Linked DNA regions of Homo sapiens: all the other regions are linked to region 4. The links are contacts of gene promoters, found by promoter capture Hi-C in blood cells and fetal thymus (Javierre and others, 2016). All regions are on one chromosome and are shown on one strand. The core of a region is centred on a gene start or on the middle of the fragment in contact, and the rest is flanking DNA. Distances in the headings are between cores, read along the strand shown. Region 1 overlaps MTDH (metadherin). Region 2 overlaps RIDA (reactive intermediate imine deaminase A). Region 3 has its middle 21 kb from the start of MTDH. Region 4 holds the start of PTDSS1 (phosphatidylserine synthase 1). Region 5 overlaps MTDH (metadherin). Region 6 overlaps INTS8 (integrator complex subunit 8). Region 7 has its middle 4.9 kb from the start of INTS8.

Region 1 (2,700 bases), core at 192-2,691, 1.4 Mb before region 4:
AACTCCTGACCTTAAGTGATCCGCCTTGGCCTCCCAAAGTGTTGGGATTATAGGCGTGAGCTGCTCCCAGCCTCAAAATTATTATTTAATCCCCAAAAAGAAACTCTGTAATGATTAGCGTTTACTCCCAGCTCCTCTTTTCTCACTGGCAACCATGATTCTACTTTCTGTCTTTGTCTTTACCATAGCCGCTCTTAAGTAAAGGTAACATATTGAACATCTGTCAACTACAGTTGAGCAGAGGCAGCAAACTTTTTCTGCAAAGGATCAAATAGTAAATATGTTAGGCTTTGCAAGCCACAGGGTTTTGGAGCAACCACAGAACTCTGCTCATATAGCATGAAAGCAGCCACATACAATTTATAAACAAAGGGGTGTGACTATGTTCCAATAAAATTTTATTTACAAAAACAGGCATCTGTCTGGATTTGGGGTGTCAGAGTTTGCTATCCTTGGTCTAGAGCAGTGCTGGCCAACAGAAATATAATGCAAACCACATATATATTTTTAAAAATTTCTAGTAGACACATTTTTAAGTTAAAATAGGTGACAATTTTAACACAACGTATCTATAATACTGTCATTTCAACATGGAACTCATATAAAAAAAGCAACACAATAAGATAGTATGTAAAAGAAAACAAAGTAAGTCTTCGAAATCTGGCATGTATTTTACACTTAACAGCAATCTCAATTTGGACTAGTCGTTTTTTTTTTTTTTTTGAGAAGGAGTTTTTCACTCTTGTTGCCCAGGCTGGAGTGCAATGGCGCGATCTCAGTTCACCGCAACCTCTGCCGCCTGGGTTCAAGCGATTCTCCTGCCTCCTGGGTTCAAGCGATTCTCCTGCCTCAGCCTCCTGAGAAGCTGGGATTACAGGCATGCGCTACCATGCCCAGCTAATTTTGTATTTTTAGTAGAGATGGGGTTTTTCCATGTTGGTCAGAGTGGTCTCAAACTTCCAACCTCAGGTGATCCACCCGCCTCGGCCTCCCAAAATGCTGGGATTACAGGCGTGACCACAGCGCCCGGCCGGACTAGTCACATTTTAAGTGCTCAATATCCACACGTGGCAAGTGGCCACTATACTGGACAGTGCAGGTCCACAGGAACTAAAGTAGGTATCCCCATTTTACACATAGAAACTGAGGCCATAAAAAGTGTTTAAGATTGCTGAGTGCGGTGGTTTACACCTGTAATCCCAGCAATTTGGAAGGTTGAGGTGGGAGGATCACTTGAGCTCAGGAGTATGAGACCAGCCAGGGCAACACACAGGGAGATTCTCTCTCTTAAAAAAAAAAAATCAGTGGGGGTGGCGGCATGCAACTGTGGTTCCAGCTACTTGGGAGGCTGAGGTGGGAGGATCACTCAAGCCTGGGAGGTTGAGGCTGAAGTGAGCTGTGATCATGTCACTGTATTCCAGCCTGGGTAACGGGGTGAGACCCTGTCTCAAAAAAACTCCAAAAAACAAACAAACAAAAAACAAAGAAAAGTGTCTAAGAGGCTGGGCGTGGTGGCTCACGCCTGTAACCCCAGCACTTTGGGAGGCTGAGGCGGGCAGATCCTGAGCTTAGGAGATCGAGACCATCCTGGCTAACATGGTGAAACCCATCTCTACTAAAAATACAAAAAATTAGCCAGGTGTGGTGGCACGTGCCTGTAGTCCCAGCTACTCGGGAGGCTGAGGCAGTAGAATCGCTTGAATCTGGGAGGCAGAGGTTGCAGTGAGCTGAGATCGCTCCACTGCACTCCAGCCTGGGTGACAGAGAGAGACTCCATCTCAAAAAAAAAAAAAAAAAAAAAAAAAAAAAAAAAAAAAGTGTCTAAGAGCATCATAGGGTAAAGTGGTGAAACTAGGACTAAATTCCAGTTCTGATCCACTTTACCCTTGCAAATAACCTCTTATTTAGTCTCCCCACATTTAACTCTAAATACAAATTTAATCATACATTAGCTATGTGACTTTGGGCTAAATCATTCTAAACCCTGTTCCCCACCCGTCATATGGACAAAAATTCCTACTAACCTCATATAAGGTTATTTTAAGAATTAAAACAAAAGGTGAAAAGAGTCTGTTAACGACAAAGTAGTATATATAAATAAGATTTTTTTTTAAGAAGGGAGACTTTGAAAAAATAATAGAAATTATGTTTACAAGGAAATATCTGGGGATTTGTAACTAAAAATCTGTAGAAAAAGATTATCTTAGATTAGGCTTAAATATTATTTGATATTACTACTGCCTTTAAAAGTAATTAACAAAAGGCCAGGTGCGGTGGCTCACGCCTGTGATCCCAGCACTTTGGGAGGCCAAGGCAGGCAGATCACCTGAGGTCAGGAATTTGAAACCAGCCTTGGCCAACATGGTGAAACCCTGTCTCTACTAAAAATAATAAAAATTAGCCAGGCGTGGTGGCGGGCGCCTATAATCCCAGCTACTCGGGAGGCTGAGGCAGGAGAATCGCTTGAACCTGGGAGGCGGAGGTTGCAGTGAGCCAAGACCACACCATTACACTCCAGCCTGGGCGACAGGGCAAGACTCCATCTCAAAAAAAAAAAAAAAAAAAAAAAAAAAAAAAAAAAATATATATATATATATATATATATATATATATATATATATATATATATATAAAGTAATTAACAAGAACACCCATCCCGATAAGATTAAATAAAATAATAGCTTATGAAAAACTTTAAAA
Region 2 (2,700 bases), core at 25-2,524, 1.8 Mb before region 4:
CATGATCCACCCACCTCAGCCTCCCAAAGTGCTGAGATTACAGGCATGAGCCTCCACACCCGGCCTAGCTGAAAGATTTTTAAAAACCTAAATATCCACTCATAAAGAACTGGTTGAATAAATTATGCTAGATCAATACAACTAAAGTAATGTGGAAAGATCTCCGAGGTAAATTGTTCCATGGTAATAAAACCAAGATGCAGAACAACATGCACAGTATGCTACCATGTGTGCTTGTGTGTTTAAAAATATGTAACATAAGCATTGACTGTACCTAGAAGGATATACAATAAATTAGGAACAGTGGTTACCTCTGAGGAGGGAAACTTGGGAGAGGGAGAGAGGGGTGAGAGATATCTTTACACGGTATATGCTTTTTTAATAGCTTTTGAGTTTTTTTGTTGTTGTTGTTGCCATATCCATGTATTACCTATTTAGAAGATTATTTTAAAAGACACAAGAATATAATGAAATATTGCATTGTGACCAGCAAAGTGGGAAGAGTGAATCCAAAAAAAGATAAATGTTTTTCCAGAAGCCAGTGTCTCCAACTGTTATATAATTTACTAATATTGTTTTTTTGAGAAAAAGGAAAAAGAACCCTTTGAAGTCAAATATTGCTTTAAAAGAAAATATGTTTTAATGCTTACTAGCTCATCCTTATCCTTGACGTGATATCGAATGAAGAACACCAGAAATTATTTCTGTGGACATTGGCTGAACAATTAACACATTTTAGCACTGAAGAAGGAACTTCAACCTAGTCTTTTTACGCACAAAAGGAGACAACATTTTCACCATATATCAGAAAGACTCATTCTATTAAAGGAAAGCCAAGAAACACACTTGTAAGCGAGTAGGGAGGATTTTTCTGCAACATAGGCTATTTAAGGAGGTATTAGTAAAAGATGATTAATTGAATTTAATTAAAGCTTTAAATCTAACATCAGTGACTTAGGCCTTTCTTGGCTTGGTTCACAGGCTCTTAAAAACATGGGTGAAATTCTGAAAGCTGCAGGCTGTGACTTCACTAACGGTGAGCAATTTGATATTATTTCACATTTCTTTTTGATATTTCTTTGGTCTTTTTGAAAAATATATGGCATCCAGTAAGATGCCGTGCCATATCTTTGTTGCTATTTAAAAGTTGTTTTAAATAGCAACTGTTCTACTTCACTTCTTTGGTCCCATTTCAGTCCCATTTTAATCAAGACAGTCTCAGATTCATACACTCTTTTTCTAAGTAATGTTTTGGGTCAGACCAAATAACTAAACCTAATGACAATGTTTATATCTTCTAGTGGTGAAAACAACTGTTCTTCTGGCTGACATAAATGACTTCAATACTGTCAATGAAATCTACAAACAGTGTAAGTAATTTGGCTTTATTCCTATTTTCCATTTTTAAAAAGAAAGAAATCTGGTCACATTAATGAATGTGCATTATGAATTAAGAGTGGTAGGAGATGCTAAAGAAATGGTCATAGATCTTAAAAGAATTAATAATCTGATTGGAAATATGTTGTATACCCCCCATGAAAAAGTTCTAAGACATTTCTATTGCATTCCCTAAAACAATATACTGAAATCCTACATATCCATTTTTCAAAAGCTTAATTTCATTAAATCCTTCTCAGGCTTTTTAAACTCTCCTAACAAGTTTTTTATGCATAGATTTTATTTACTGTGGCTGTATGGTGCAGCCACCATCTTTATCCTGGCTCTCTCAGACTCATTAGTTAGTTACTTAATATTTCTATGCCTTGGTTTTCTCATATGCAAAATGGAGATAATATACTCCTAACTTATAGGGTTGTTGGAATGATTAAATGAGTCAGTACAACATGTAAAGCACTTAGATGCTGGTGTGTTATAAGCACTGAGTAAATGTTAGCTATTATTAACATTGATGTTATAGTAGGGAAAATTGGTGTCCCCAACACCTAATGGGATGAGGCAAAGGTATAACTTGGAAAAAGCATCGTTACTTATTCTCTCCTGAAGAAATTATTAGAAAAGACCAAAGTTGGCAGAGGAAGTACTTGCCAAAATTTCTGGAGATGGGCACTTGTTCCCTATTTAGATAAATAGTTTATAAATATCACTTTAAAAACAAAACTCCATTCACATCAAACAAGATCAAAATGTTAGGGTATGTATTTCTTTTTTTTTTTTTTTTTTTTTTTTGCCAGAAAGCTAAGAGATTTTAAAAAGTATTAACTATCATAGGAATCATATGGCAAAATATTTTATCAAACAAATCTGATAGTGAGCCTCTTTTTTAAAATGTTGCTTAAGGCCAGGAGCAGTGGCTCACACCTATAATCCCAGCACTTTGAGAGGCTGAGGTGGGTGGATCACTTGACATTAGGAGTTTGAGACCAGTCTGGCCAACATGGTGAAGCCCCGACTCTACTAAAAATACAAAAATGAGCCAGGCATGGTGGTGCACACCTGTAATCCCAGCTACTCGGGAGGCTGAGGCAGGAGAATCTCTTGAACATGGGAGACAGAGGTTGCAGTAAGCTGAGATCGCATCACTTCACTCCAGCCTTGGGCGATAGAGCAAGACTCTGTTTCAAAAAAATAAAAATAAATGTTGCTTATATCTAAGAACTGACTAGTATATGAAATATTTGCCAGATTATTAATTGTAGATATTGAATAACAATAGAATATCTGAAAACTAAAATAAAAATT
Region 3 (2,700 bases), core at 90-2,589, 1.4 Mb before region 4:
TCCGAGGGGCCATGATCCTGGCCAACGTCTCCACTGTCCCCGTGCGCAGAGGCTACTGGGGAAACAAGTTCGGCAAGCCCCACACGGTCCCTTGCAAGGTGACAGGCCGCTGCGGCTCTGTGCTGGTGCACCTCATCCCTGCACCCGGGGCGCTGGCATCGCCTCGACCCCAGTAGCTAAGAAGCTGCTGATGATGGCCGGTATCCATGACTGCCACACCTCAGCTGGGAGCTGCAATGCCACCCTGGGCAACTTCGCCAAGGCCACCTTTGATGCCATCTCCAAGACCTACAGCTACCTGACCCCCGACCTCTGGAAGGAGACTGTATTCACCAAGTCTCCCTATCAGGAATTCACTGACCACCTTGTCAAGACCCACGCCAGAGTCTACGTGCAGAGGACCCAGGCTCCAGCTGTGGCTACAACATAAGGTTTTTATACAAGTAAAATAAAGCGAATTAAGCCTGTTTAAAAAAAGTGTAGTCCAACAAAACTGTTCAGTTATAAAGTCAACAAGCAAGCTTTCTCAAATATGAAAAGACAGAGGGAAAGTAGTACTTAGAATCTAGTGTGTAAAAGATATAGAAGTAAGCCTTTCATGAACAAAACCATTGGACATTGAAATCCAGCCAAAGAAATGAATCAAAATCAAGAATGTAGGAGTGGTAAAAGAACTGGAAATGAGCATTAGACGCTTTTAAAAATAGAACAAAAACTAAGTAACTAGGGGTATCATAATTACAGAACATGATGTGATGGCTTATAACCTGGCAAAGTAAAATATATTATAATTAATGAGAAGAGAAATGGAGGAAAATGTAGGTAGGAGAAATTGTTAAGAGTGTAATCACTTCATCTTTCATAGCAGGGAGTCAACCCATGCTGTCTAAAATTAAACCATGTAGTTAAGAAAAAAATAAAAACATTTCCGGATCTTTGATTATTTTAATAATCTCTTTGCTTAACCTGAGAGCCAGAGAGGAGAGCCAGCATCTGTGTGCCAGATTTGCATACAGCTGTGTTTTGGTTTTGTATGACCAGATCAATGTTTTCAAATATCTTAAAATCTGAATGTCTTTAGGTGGGAGTGCACTTGCCTGTTAACTTCATTTTATACATTTGTATTTCACACATTGAAGGGCCTGCCCGGCCTTGTCTTTAGAGGACTCTTTGGCAACTAATATCTTCTATGATGAAGAATCATTTATCTGAAATTCAGTAATTCTTGGAGTAAGATGAAATAATTGACCAATAGATACATTCCTCTTATTTTTTGTGTGAAATATCTTTTTCTCTGGCTTAACAAATGGAATGTTTCTCGTGCATTATAATGACAGTAATCTGTCTCCTAGCAAAGCCAGACACTGCTGCCTCCATCCTTTTCTTAAATTGGCTGTGCCCTGGCCTTTGACTCCAGTGCACGCATGAGTGATGCACAGAGAGTGATTTTCCTGAGAGATCCCTTTCATTGGGTAGGTGCCTCCGGGGAGGCTTCTCCTTACACGTCTTACTCTATTTAAAGCCTTGGGGACTTAGCTGTTGTCACCTTCTAGCTATTTCTTTGGCTCAAATTTAACTTTCAGTCCTTTAAACAGACTAAGGATTGGGACTGAAAGGGAGCCAGAAGAAACAGCTGATTGGCTGTGCAGGTCTTGTTCGGGTGTTCTGACCCTGGCTGGAGAGGCTGAGCTGGTCATTCTGAGAGCAACTGCGAGGGCAGCCTGAGTCTGCTCTGACGCTTTAGAAGGGACAGCGGATGGACATTGGAAGGACTGGTATTCCAGCAGGAGACCAAAGATTGGGCATTGCAAAGAGAACTGCAGAACTCTCTTAAGATAGTATTTCCACATAAAGGTACTGTATTAGTTCTTTAGGGAGCTGCTGAAGACAAAATAGATACCGCCTTAAAAAAGCAAAACAAACCTTTTATTTAAATTAAATTTTGTAATAATCAAGAGAGAGATGCCTGTCACACTTAGATTTTGAATTTTTAAATGTTTCCATAATTAGAAGGCATTTCGTGGGAAGGAATAAAGGCTGGATTGTGTGATGGTGGCTGTGAGAATGGGATAGGAAGGGTAGAGATGAGCTCTGTGAAAGAAAGAACCAAAGTTTGGTTGTTGATTGGATATGAGAACAGAGAAGGATTCAAGCTTGATTACCTGAATGGCAGGTAATATTATTATTATTATTATTTTTGAGACAGAGTTTGGCTCTTGTTGCCCAGGCTGGAGTGCAATGGCGCGATCTTGGCTCACTGCAACCTCCATCTCCTGGGTTCAAGTGATTCTCCTGCCTCAGCCTCCCAAGTAGCTGGGATTACAGGCATGCACCACCACGCCTGGCTAATTTTGTATTTTTAGTAGAGACAGGATTTCACCATGTTGATCAGGCTGGTCTCCAACTCCTGACCTCAAGCAATCCACCCACCTCAGCCTCACAAAGTGCTGGGATTACAGGTGTGAGCCACTGCACCTGGCCCCAGTAATATTATTAACTATGGGTAAGCCAAGGGGCTCACACCAAGGTGTTCTCATTGGCTTGCTTCTTGCTTTCACAGGTAATATCATTACAGTCAGAGAATTTCCTCAGTAAGGTGATTTTATTCTGTCTTTGTAGTGCTTACAATGAGTGTTCTCCTAGGATAACCTTTCTAAACTCACCACATATTATCCAGGACAGTTGGACTCCTTGTATATA
Region 4 (2,700 bases), core at 26-2,525:
GGCAGCTCCTATGAACCGGTATATATTAGAATGTGTGTGTATGTTTTCCAGGGAATAAGAGAGTTGTGTTATGCTGTGTGAGGTTTATGTGTTTCATTTAACACACAGCAGTTACTATACCCCAGGCACCATTAAAATTGCTGGACAAGATCACATTTCAGCACGTATGTTAGGTAATGAGTGAGCAGGGTATGCACCGCGTGATGTGTGGCGGGCTGGTGTCTGTGCAGCCATGTACACAGATGATGGGTATTGGGCTGTGCTGGAAAGGAAAGGTCCGCTGTGAGGTGTGTGTTTAGAGTGGCAGTTTGTGCCGTGGTACAGATGGTAGTGTTTGAGGCTGGGGGAAGTGTTATGCTGGATGACTTGTGTGCAATGCATACGGGAAGTGCTGCACAGGAAAGACCGTGTATGCAGCACACATGTGCATTTTTTGTGCGTTACGGATAGTGCCGAATACCGGAGTTCCACAGGAAGGGATCTAGGTTGTGTCCTGGGCCTGTGTATGGTGCCTGCAGGCGCTGTGGATTGGGGTGCTTTGTATGTGTAGCGGTGTGTGCTGAAAGTGGTGCATACGACATGATTCATGCGGTGTGCTGGGTAGGGACGAAGGCTGGAGCAGTGCAGAGGAGGGGCCCGCGTCGTGATGTTGTGTGGAGCGATGCTGAGTGCGGTGGGTGAGGGGGCGATCGTGCTAGGTGACTCGCGTGCGTTCCCCGTGTAACCGGAGGCGCTGTATGGAGAAGGGGCACTGAGGGGTAGGGGAGCAGGCTAGCGTACTGTGAGACACCGGGCGGGCGGAGGGGCCGCGTGGGCGGCGGGCTGCCAGTGCGTGTGCGTGGAGCAGCCAGCCCACTTCCTCACCCAGAGCCATGCCGGGCCCCCCTCCCCGCCACCCTCCCTCCCGCCTCTTCCCTAGCCCTTGGACGCGCCCCCCGCTCGGCTGGGCCGCCCCACCTGGTAAAGGCGAAGTACATGAGGCTGACGATGGTGAAGCTGAGCAGGGTGATGGTATGCGGCCGGTAGAAGAAGTCAATGGTGATGTCCTCCACTTGCTGCTCGTTGATCATCCGGAAATGCATTTTGTAGTTCACATCATCCTTGCTTAGGGTCCGGCTCCCCACGCAGGACGCCATGGCCCGCCTCCCCGTCCTGCCGCGGTGGCGGCGGCCCCAGCCCGAGAAGGCCGGGACCCCGGGGGTGACTAGCCACAGTAGGCTAATAGCCGGACGGCAAAGCCGGGTCTGGCGCCCAGCAAAGGCTGGGAGCAGAGGGAAGGACAGGCGCGAGAGGGCGGGGTCGCGGCGCCGCCACCGCGGCCTGGGGCAGGGGACGCCGCCGGCCGTCCCCACGCTGTCATCCTAGCTGAGGCATCTCTACCACTCGAGGAATTTTCAGACTCCAAGTCCACAGGACTTCAGAGGAATAGCGAGCCGGAGAAGGGTAGCCGGGGCCCCTGGCTGGCTCTTTTCAGAGCACGTAGCCCGCTGTCTCCCCGCGTAACCCGGCACATGGTCTCGCCCACTCCGGGCGCGGCCCACGTGGGCCCGGGAGCGCGGCTGCGCTGTGTAGGGCGGGCTGAGGAGCCGGCGTGCGGCGCGGCGGGACGGGACGTGCGGCCCAGCGAGTTGGTCGGTCCCGGGGTCACCCGCTACGGGAAGCAGGCCTCGCCACAGGTAAAGCAGGAGCTGCCCCAGCACGAGGATCGCGCTCCTGGCGAGGGTTCAGGTTCCGGCGCACCCGCGTCCAGACCGCGCCCCAGGGCCTCAAGGGCCTTTAGGTTTTCGCGGCCCAGTAGAGGGTGATTGGTTTTGTTTTGTGTTTTTCCCTGGCTGATGTAGTGAAAACTCAACCATGCTGGCTAATTAGCGCAGTGTGAGAAGCCTCAGGAGGGGGCTCTGCCTTCCTGCGCAAGTTTGGGGAACTGAAGTGGGCTAAAATGGCCTGGGAAGTATTGAGAGACCCTTTATTAGGAAGCTGCCCCCATAACCTCCCTTTCTCTCCTGATTTCATTTATAGCATTTCGTAGGTAGAAATCTTGAACTCTATTTCAGTGCCTTTTTCTAGCGAAGCACTAGGCACTCATTGAGAACAGTATATATGAATTGTTAAGAGACTTCAGTTTCTTTAAGGGTTTTCTGTAATTTTCCTGATGAAAGGACCTTGTTAGAAGACTTCAGGTTACCACCTTACAGGGCTTTTATACACATCTGCACATCCCCTACCCGCTTTTGCATACTGTGTAAGCAAGTGAGTTAACTGTACTTGCCATTGATTTATTTCCATTCCGCAAACATTAGAGCAGTACAAGGCTCTGGGAAAGTGGAGAATAGTCCCCGGAAGGATGGATCCAGGGATGAGACCCAGCTCTGCTCTCGTGCATGAACAGTTAATCAATTGTTAAGATGTGTAGGCAGCAATGAAAGGATGTGGAGAAGATAGTGCACTTGTAAATAAAAATGCAAGGATAAACATTAGTTGTATGCACAAAGATCTTTTAATGACGGGGTGAAATTTGAAAGTGAGTCTTCCTGATGTTTAAGTGGTATTGAGTGTGGAAAGGCTTCAGGATGAATTTGGGATTTCAGGAGTTTGAAGTAGGATGAAGTGCTTAGACGTCAAAAAATGTTAGAGCTGATAGGGGCCTTAAGAATCATCTTATTGTACCCCTAGCCTTTTAAAAAAGCATTATTTGAAGAA
Region 5 (2,700 bases), core at 153-2,652, 1.4 Mb before region 4:
ACCTAATGCATGTGGGGCTTAAAACCTAGATGACAGGTTGATGGGTGCAGCAAATCACCATGGCACATGTATACCTATGTAACAAACCTGCACATTCCGCACATGTATCCCAGAACTTAAAGTATAATTAAAAAAAAAAAAAGATAAAGGCAAGAAATTAGGAAATTCAGAAGAGGCATCATTGTAGTTGATAAGTTAGACTATAAGACAGTCTTAACAATAATAATTTCCAAGTACTTGCTAGACACATTACACGCATTATCTCATTTAATGGACAAGACCTAGTTTTGGTAAGTTTGTTTTAGTTCTGAAACGTTCTTACACAAATTCAAGATGGAACAATTTCTTGTCAGTTTGTTTGAAAGTAAAAACATTTTCCCCTGCCAAATGTTATGCACACAGCAACTACATAAACTAAACATACACATAAACCATAGCTTTAGACACAGTTCAACCCCAATTTCAAACTCTTAATAACTGAGAGAACAATCTTACAAATATAACCTATGGTTCAAATTTGCAAAATCTCACTATATACTGAGATATTTCCTTTAGTGGTAAAGATCCCTGTGCTTTCTAAACAGCCAAAAATTCAACTCAGGATTCCAAACTGTCTCCTTGTTGACTACAGCAGGGATGCTCAGGGTTACCTTTATGAGATGGGGAGATGGTAATAACTGTCACATGGCCAAGATATGCCAAAGATGATTTCTGAAAAACTAAATACAAGCATTGGTTTTCAATATTTTACATCTGATGGGTATGATAAGGACTACAAATGATACAGCAAATACACATCTGTATAATTCTTTCTTAGAAGAAAAATGTCTAAGACATTCTGACGGATGCCTTCTGGGAAGCCTGGCATTCCATGGAGCAGTTTGAAAACTACTAGCATAGCTGGAGAGAAAAACAAGTGCATTTTAAAACTGATCAAATAACACCAATTCCTCACTTATATCTCTGAATTTTGCTTGAATAATAATTTAAAAATACTCTCAAGGCTTTTACAGCCTTGAGAAATAGTACACTAACCAGTAATGCCAAAGCACAACAAAAATGAATGTTCATAGGGTTTATTGTTGTTCTTGGTATCTAAGATGGGCACAACTACTAAAGGTCTTTTCTGTCAGAACTGTTAAAGGTCTTTTACGTTAGGCCTCTGGCAGAATGAAAAGAAAAGATGAAAAAATCCTGTCACATAACCAAACAAATGGAGCCAAAATTCTGGAGCTTTTGTAAGGTCATTATAATTTTCAGCAGAAACTTCTGACTCGAAATTTTAAAAGCAATAAAGCCATAACTCACTGGGAAAACTCTATTTGTTCTCTGAATGCAATTTAATATCCTGGAACATGCCATCGAAACCAGAGAGGTAGAGTGGAAATAACAAAGTTCTTAGACTAGAAATTAGGATATTGTTTTGCCTTTTAAACTCCTTTGTCCTATGACCTTGAATAAGTCAGTTAATTTTTCTGAATCTCAAGATTTCTCTTCTGTAAAATCATGAATATTTGTTTTACTTATAATTTGGATTTTTTTGAGCAAATGATTATTCTTTTTTTTTTTTTCTTTTTTTGAGACAGAGTCTCGCTCTGTCGCCAGGCTAGAGTACAGTGGTGCGATCTCGGCTCACTGCAACCTCCGCCTCCCGGGTTCAAGCGATTCCCCTGTCTCAGCCTCCTGAGTAGCTGGGACTATAGGTGCACGCCACCATGCCTGGCTGATTTTTGTAGTTTTAGTAGAGATGGGGTTTCACCATGTTGGCCAGGATGGTCTCAATCTCCTGACCTGGTGGTCCGCCCGAAGTACTGGGATTACAGGTGTGAACCACCGCACCTGGCTGATTATTCTCTTAAGAATTAAAACTGACAAAGAGTGACTTAAAGGTAAAAAGAAAACTCTATAGGTGGCAAGTGATATAACTTTTTTAATATTACCAGCAAAACTATTACCTAAGAATAAAAAAACACAATTCTACTGGGAATATATTAAGAGATAAATTTATTTAACTCAATAACAGATTATCCAATTAACTGTGAGATGTTATTTTAGTCACTTTGTTCAGCTTTTAGTTCAACAAATAATTACCAAAGGCACTTATACGCCAGGCAGTTTGCCACCGGTTTACAATCTGGGGAGGGAGAGAACCCAAAAAAGTAAATGGGTAAGTAAACAAATAATGTACAAACTGTAATAACCACTATGAAGGAAACATCTAAGGGGTTGAGACAGAAAATAGAAAGGGATGTCTATTTCACATAGGGTGATCAGGAAAGGATTTTCGGGGAAGGTGACTTTTAAGGTGAAAACTAAAGGCTGAGGAGAATAGTGGGGGAAAGATTGTTCCAAAAGTGTTAATAATAGCTCATGTAAAGGCGCTGGGTTGTGAAAGAGTTTCAAGAACTGAACAGCAAATGACAGGAAACTCACACAAATTCAGCTTAGAATGAAAAGCAGGTGCTGGGCCATACGGGCCATGGAAAGAGATTTAGATTTTAAATGCAAAAGCTACTAAGTGTTGGTTTTAGGCAGCATAGTGATTTGCTTTGAAAAAACTCATTACTAGTGCGTTGAGAAAGGACTGGATGCAGTAAAAGGAAGGCTACTGCTGCAGGTTAGGGGAGCTAAGGTGACACTAGAAAAAGTAGTCAGATTGAATATATATTTTGGAGATAAAATTGATGGTACTTTGCTGAT
Region 6 (2,700 bases), core at 139-2,638, 1.4 Mb after region 4:
CATACATGTATAAACACCCGGCATACAATAGAGGTGGCCCTAGAGATTGGTGGGAAAAAAATTAACCTTTCAGTAAATGGTGCTGGCACACTTCCTGCTTCACACAAAAATCAACTGTAGGTTGATCAAAGACCTAAACGTGAAAGGAAGGCTATGCTATAAAGCTTTTAGAAGATAATAATAGAAGAATATCTTCATGACACAATAGGAAAAAGCTTTCTTAAACAACACACAGAAATCACTACAACGGAAAAAAATCGGTAAATTTGATATTAAATTTAGGAGCTTTGGAACAATATAAAGAAAACTAAGCTGGGCGTGGTGGCTCATGCCTGTAATCACAGCACTTTGGGAAGCCAAGGTGAGTGGATCACCTGAGCTCAACAGTTCGAGCCCAGCCTGGACAACGTGACAAAACCCCATCTTTACCAAAAATAAAAAAAATTAGCCAGGCGTGGTGGCACATGCCTGTAGTCCCAGCTACTCAGGAGGCTGAGGTGGGAGGATGGCTTGAACCCAGGAGGTGGAGGTTACAGTGAACTGAGATCACAGCACTGCACTCCAACTGGGTGATAGAGTGAGACCCGTCTCAAACAAAAAAAAAAAAAAAAGAAAAACTAAAAGTCAAACTCAGTGAAGATATCTGCAATATTTAAAATTGGTAAAAAAGAGAATATATATAGATCTCCTACAAAAAAGAAAGCTCCTTCCAAAGAACAGACAATATAATAGAAAAATGAGACATAACATGGCCGGGCACGGCTCATGCCTGTAATCCCAGGACTTTGGGAGGCTAAAGTGGGTGGATCACTTGAGGTCAGGAGTTCAAGACCAGCCTGGCCAAAATGGCAAAACCCCGTCGCTACTAAAAATACAAAAATTAGCAGGGCGTGGTGGTGGGCACCTGTAATCCCAGCTACTCCGGAGGCTGAGGCCGGAGAATCACTTGAAACTGGGAGGTGGAGGTTGCAGTGAGCTGAAATTGTACCACTGCACTCCAGCCTGGGCAACAAGAGCAGAACTCTGGCCAGGCACGGTGGCTCACACCTGTAATCCTATCACTTTGGAAGGCCAAGGCAGGCAGATAACCTGAGGTCAGGAGTTTGAGCCCAGCCAGGCCAACATGGCAAAACCCTGTCTCTACTAAAAATACAAAAATTAGCCAGGCGTGGTAGCGCACGCCCGTAGTCCTAGCTACTCAGGAGGCTGAGGCAGGAGAATCGCTTGAACCTGGGAGGCGGAGGTTGCAGTGAGCCGAGATCACGCCACTGCACTAAAGCCTGGCCAGGCAACAGAGGGGGCCCCATCTCAAAAAATAAAAAAATAAAAAAAAAAAAGCAGAACTCTATCTCAAAAAAAAAAAGAGGCATAACACTTGGAAAAGGTACCTCAAAAAACAAAATCCATGAGTAAAAATTAAATGAAGAGTTGTAGAAATGAAAACCTCAATGAGGTACTGTTATACAACCACCTCACAGGCGATCTGACAATATCAAATGTTAACAAGGATGTTGACTGATGAGAACACTCAGGCATGCTGGTGGTTATAAGCCACTTGGTTTTTAAAAATTAATGTTGCAGATATATTATTCCCTAGGTATGTAACATAAACTGGTACGTATGCACACCTAGATATATGTACAAGTATGTTCCAAGCGGCAAAAACTATAAACAACACAAATGTCCCTCCATCATATGTGTATACAGCCAAAAACTATAAAACACACAAATGTCCCCCATCATAAGACTGAAGAAATTGTGGCGTGGTCCATATAATATTCTAACTTTTTTTTTTTTGAGATGGAGTCTCTCACTGTTGCCCAGGCTGGAGTGCAGTGGCGTAATCTCCACTCATTGAAACCTCTGCCTCCTAGTTTCAAGCGATTCTCCTGCCTCAGCCTCCCAAGTAGCTGGGATTACAGGCACTTGCCAGCACGCTCGGCTAATTTTTTGTATTTTTAGTAGAGACGGAGTTTCACTATGTTTACCAGGCTGGTCTTGAACTCCTGACCTTGTGATCCACTCGCCTTGGCCTCCCAAAGTGCTGAGATTACAGGTGTGAGCCACTGCACCCAGGCTCTAACACCTTAAAGCAATGAAAAAAATTGTTATTTATATACAACTTGAATAAATCTCACAAATAAATCTCTTTAGTGAAAGAAGATGATGAATACACATTGTATGATTCCATTTATATGAAGTTCAAAATAGGCAAATTAAAGAATGTTCTTTAAGGATACATACAGAGGTGATACAAATATAAAAGAAAGCAAGAAAATTATGATCACAAAAGCCAGGGCAGTAGCTACCTCAAGGGAAGGTAGAGGAGGTTGTAAAGACCACAACAAAGGCTTCTAGAGTGCTGGCAACGTTGTATTTTTGGAAGTAAGTGGTATTATCTGTGCTTTATGTACTTCTCTCAATGTCTCTAACATTAAGACTGTTAAGAAAGAAGTAGAGTGATCCAGTAGAAACACAGATTCCACAGCACACATGACAGACAAGAGGCTTGATTTGGGAGTTCTTAGTAAACAGGTGATGAAACAGATGAGTGAAGCTTTGGAAGTAAATAAAAAATGATGAGTGAGCCAAGGACAAAAGTTCTATGAACAGAAATACTAAAGGAAGAGCAATAGAGAAGTCAATGAAGGACTAAGGAGAATCCAATAAAGATGCTGAAGAAACATGGAGCGAACTAGA
Region 7 (2,700 bases), core at 191-2,690, 1.4 Mb after region 4:
CAGCTACTCAGGAGGCTGAGGCAGGAGAATCGCTTGAACCCGGGAGGCAGAGGTTGCGGTGAGCCGAGATCGCGCCATTGCACTCCAGCTTAGGCGACAAGAATGAAACTCTGTCTCAAAAAAAAAAAAATGTTAAAAATAGGCTTACCAGATGACTCAGCAATTCCCCTTCTAGGTATGTATCCAAGAGAAAGGAGAAAATGTACCCACACAAAGACTTGAATGTTTAGAACAGCAGTATCTACAGTAGCCTAAAAGTAGAAACCAAGGTCTATAACCTGGTGAATAGACAAATAAAATGTGACATACTCATTGTATCTGTTTCAAGTGGCTGCTGTAACAAATTACCACAAACTTTGTGGTTTAAAACAACAGAAACTGGCCGAGTGCAGTGGCTCACGCCTGTAATCCCAGCACTTTGGGAGGCTGAGGTGGAGAGTCCAGGAATTCAAGACGTATCTGGGCAGCATAGTGAGACTTCTGTCTCTACAAAAAAATCAAAATAAAAAATAAGGCTGGGATGGTGGTGTGCGTCTGTAGTCCTGGCTATGTGGGAAACTGAGGTGGGAGGATTGCTTGAGCCCAAGAGGATGAGGCTACAGTGAGCCGAGATTGCACCACTGCACTCAGGTGGGTGACAGAGTGAGACCCTGTCTCAAAAAAAAAAAAAAAAAGAAAAGAAAGAAAGAATGAGAACAGACTGTGGTCATTCAGACTTGGGTATTTAGCAGACATTTTCTTGAACAAAGTGAGCCTGTCATGTCACTTTATGGAAAACAACTAACACCATTTGTGGCGAATAATAACATTCAATTTTTTTTTTTTTTTTTTGAGATGGAGTTTTGCTCTTGCTGCCCAGGCTGGAGTGCAATGGTGCTATCACCGCTCACTGCAACCTCCACCTCTCAGGTTCAAGCGATTCTCCTGCCTCAGCCTCCCGAATAGCTGGGATTACAGGCACTGCCACCACCACACCTGGCTAATTTTTCTATTTTTAGTAGAGATGGGGTTTCACCATGTTGGCCAGACTGGTCTTGAACTCCTGACCTCAAGTGATCCTCCCACCTTGGCCTCCCAAAGTGCTGGGATTACAGACATGAGCCACCGCTCCTGGCCAACATTCAACTTTTTAAGTAAAATTAGAATTTTAGAAAACTGTAAACTTGGCAGCTTCCCAATACTTGACAAGACTTTTCTGATGACACCAATGGCGATATTAACAAATGTATATTTAAATGTGTCAACTTTCAGATGATCATCACAACTTGACAAATCAATCAATATTTTCCTAATATATGGCTAAAAGATTTATTTAAATTCCAAGACAAGCCGAGCACAGTGGCTCATGCCTGTAATCCCAACACTTTGGGAGGCAGGGGCAGGATGATCACTTGAAACCAGGAGTTGGAGACTGCAGCGAGCTATGATCATGCCACTGTACTCCAGTCTGGGTGACAGAGCGAGACCCTGCCTCTTAAAAGTAAATAAATAAAAAATTTCAGCTGGGCACGGTGGCTCATGCCTGTAATCCCAGCACTTTGGGAGGCCGAGGTGGGAGGATGACGAGGTCAGGAGTTTGGACCAGCCTGGCCAACGTGATCAAACCCTGTCTCTATTAAAAATACAAAAATTAGCTGGCATGGTGGCAGGTGCCTGTAATCCTAGCTACTCAGGAGTCTGAAGCAGGAGAATAGCTTGAACCCGGGAGGCAGAGGTTGCAGTGAGCAGAAATCGCATCACTGTACTCCAGCCTGGGCGACAGAGCAAGACTCCATCTCAAAACAAAACAAAACAAAAAATTTCAAGACAGACTGATGAATTGTAATGGAACGGAATTTGAAAAGTTAATTGGTATGATTTCAGATTTAAAATTGCAGCTAATCTTTAAGAAACAACCACTTTCTCAGGTTTTGGTGAAGAAAGTCCATAATTATCCGAAAAGATATAAAATACTTCTTTTTTTAACTACTCATCTATGTGAGCAATGCCACTCTTCTAGTTTTTAAAATGAAAATAGTTATTTTATATAAAATTGTATTTGTCAGCATGTAATAGGATTATTTTTATTTTTATATGATTATTTTATTTTAATTTAAATAAATTAAATATTTTTAAAACTTCTCAGTGTTAATTTTTAATATGGTAAATATAAACAAACACTCTTTTAAGTGCTTAATAATTTTTTGGTCTAACAGGGCCCTGAGACTAAAAAATCTGAGAAACTATTTTATTGAGGCATGCACATCAAAATCCTACTGTGTTTGGCTCTGAAGAGAAGAGGGAAGGAGGATAGAACAGGGGTGGGTTAGAGAAGGGGAGAGGAGAGGTGAATGGGGGGAAGGAGTGGGGGAGGGGGGTCACAGGTACTTCAACTTTATCTGTATTTTTTTTTTTTGAGACAGAGTCTTGCTCTGTTGCCCAGGCTGGAGTGCAATGGTGCGCTCTTGGCTCGCTGCAACCTCCACCTCCCAGGTTCAAGTGATTCTCCTACCTCAGCCTCCAGAGTAGCTGGGATTACAGGCACGCCACCATGCCTGGCTAATTTTTGTATTTTTAGTAGAGACAGGTTACACTATGTCGACCGGGCTGGTCTCGAACTCCTGACCTCAGGTGATCTACCCGCCTCAGCCTCCCAAAGTGCTGGGATTACAGACGTGAGCCACCGCACCCCGTTCTGGTTTTTGTTTGTTTGTTTTGTGA

What was found. The method cuts DNA at HindIII sites, captures the fragments that hold promoters and counts their contacts. A CHiCAGO score of 5 or more calls a contact.
Region 1: a contact is called between a fragment that was not itself captured here and the fragment with the promoter of PTDSS1 in region 4, in 4 of 17 cell types (total B cells, naive B cells, M0 macrophages and 1 more). The highest score is 8.1, in total B cells.
Region 2: a contact is called between a fragment that was not itself captured here and the fragment with the promoter of PTDSS1 in region 4, in 1 of 17 cell types (non-activated CD4 T cells). The highest score is 5.9, in non-activated CD4 T cells.
Region 3: a contact is called between a fragment that was not itself captured here and the fragment with the promoter of PTDSS1 in region 4, in 5 of 17 cell types (activated CD4 T cells, total CD8 T cells, total B cells and 2 more). The highest score is 9.3, in activated CD4 T cells.
Region 5: a fragment that was not itself captured here is called in contact with the fragment with the promoter of PTDSS1 in region 4 in 13 of 17 cell types (activated CD4 T cells, total B cells, total CD4 T cells and 10 more); the score reaches 11.6 in activated CD4 T cells.
Region 6: a contact is called between a fragment that was not itself captured here and the fragment with the promoter of PTDSS1 in region 4, in 1 of 17 cell types (activated CD4 T cells). The highest score is 5.7, in activated CD4 T cells.
Region 7: a contact is called between a fragment that was not itself captured here and the fragment with the promoter of PTDSS1 in region 4, in 1 of 17 cell types (fetal thymus). The highest score is 6.4, in fetal thymus.

What each region holds. Positions count from the first base shown.
Region 1 is chr8:97,682,163-97,684,862 of GRCh38, reverse strand. All of the region lies in intron 2 of MTDH (metadherin), which reads right to left. Among named protein-coding and RNA genes, the nearest start is that of MTDH, 39 kb to the right of the region's middle. The HindIII fragment of the contact is 5,003 bases long and covers 1-2,700 here.
Region 2 is chr8:98,104,608-98,107,307 of GRCh38, reverse strand. RIDA (reactive intermediate imine deaminase A) reads left to right here. Exons shown (of 6, transcript NM_005836.3): 3 at 982-1,036; 4 at 1,302-1,370. Among named protein-coding and RNA genes, the nearest start is that of RIDA, 11 kb to the left of the region's middle. The HindIII fragment of the contact is 680 bases long and covers 935-1,614 here.
Region 3 is chr8:97,621,933-97,624,632 of GRCh38, reverse strand. It overlaps the pseudogene RPS2P33. Among named protein-coding and RNA genes, the nearest start is that of MTDH, 21 kb to the left of the region's middle. The HindIII fragment of the contact is 1,632 bases long and covers 524-2,155 here.
Region 4 is chr8:96,260,477-96,263,176 of GRCh38, reverse strand. It overlaps PTDSS1 (phosphatidylserine synthase 1), which reads right to left and starts at 1,275. Exons shown (of 13, transcript NM_014754.3): 1 at 958-1,275. The coding sequence starts at 1,136. MTERF3 (mitochondrial transcription termination factor 3) reads left to right here and starts at 1,567. Exons shown (of 8, transcript NM_015942.5): 1 at 1,567-1,676. RefSeq lists enhancers at 350-589, 735-1,427, 1,910-1,969, 2,121-2,700 and silencers at 740-919, 970-1,339, 1,520-1,669, 1,422-1,746. The HindIII fragment of the contact is 8,922 bases long and covers 1-2,700 here.
Region 5 is chr8:97,651,997-97,654,696 of GRCh38, reverse strand. The region is part of intron 1 of MTDH (metadherin); the gene reads right to left. Among named protein-coding and RNA genes, the nearest start is that of MTDH, 9.2 kb to the right of the region's middle. The HindIII fragment of the contact is 3,974 bases long and covers 1-2,700 here.
Region 6 is chr8:94,842,664-94,845,363 of GRCh38, reverse strand. All of the region lies in intron 10 of INTS8 (integrator complex subunit 8), which reads right to left. Among named protein-coding and RNA genes, the nearest start is that of INTS8, 21 kb to the right of the region's middle. The HindIII fragment of the contact is 2,342 bases long and covers 218-2,559 here.
Region 7 is chr8:94,817,026-94,819,725 of GRCh38, reverse strand. No RefSeq gene overlaps it. Among named protein-coding and RNA genes, the nearest start is that of INTS8, 4.9 kb to the left of the region's middle. The HindIII fragment of the contact is 7,350 bases long and covers 1-2,700 here.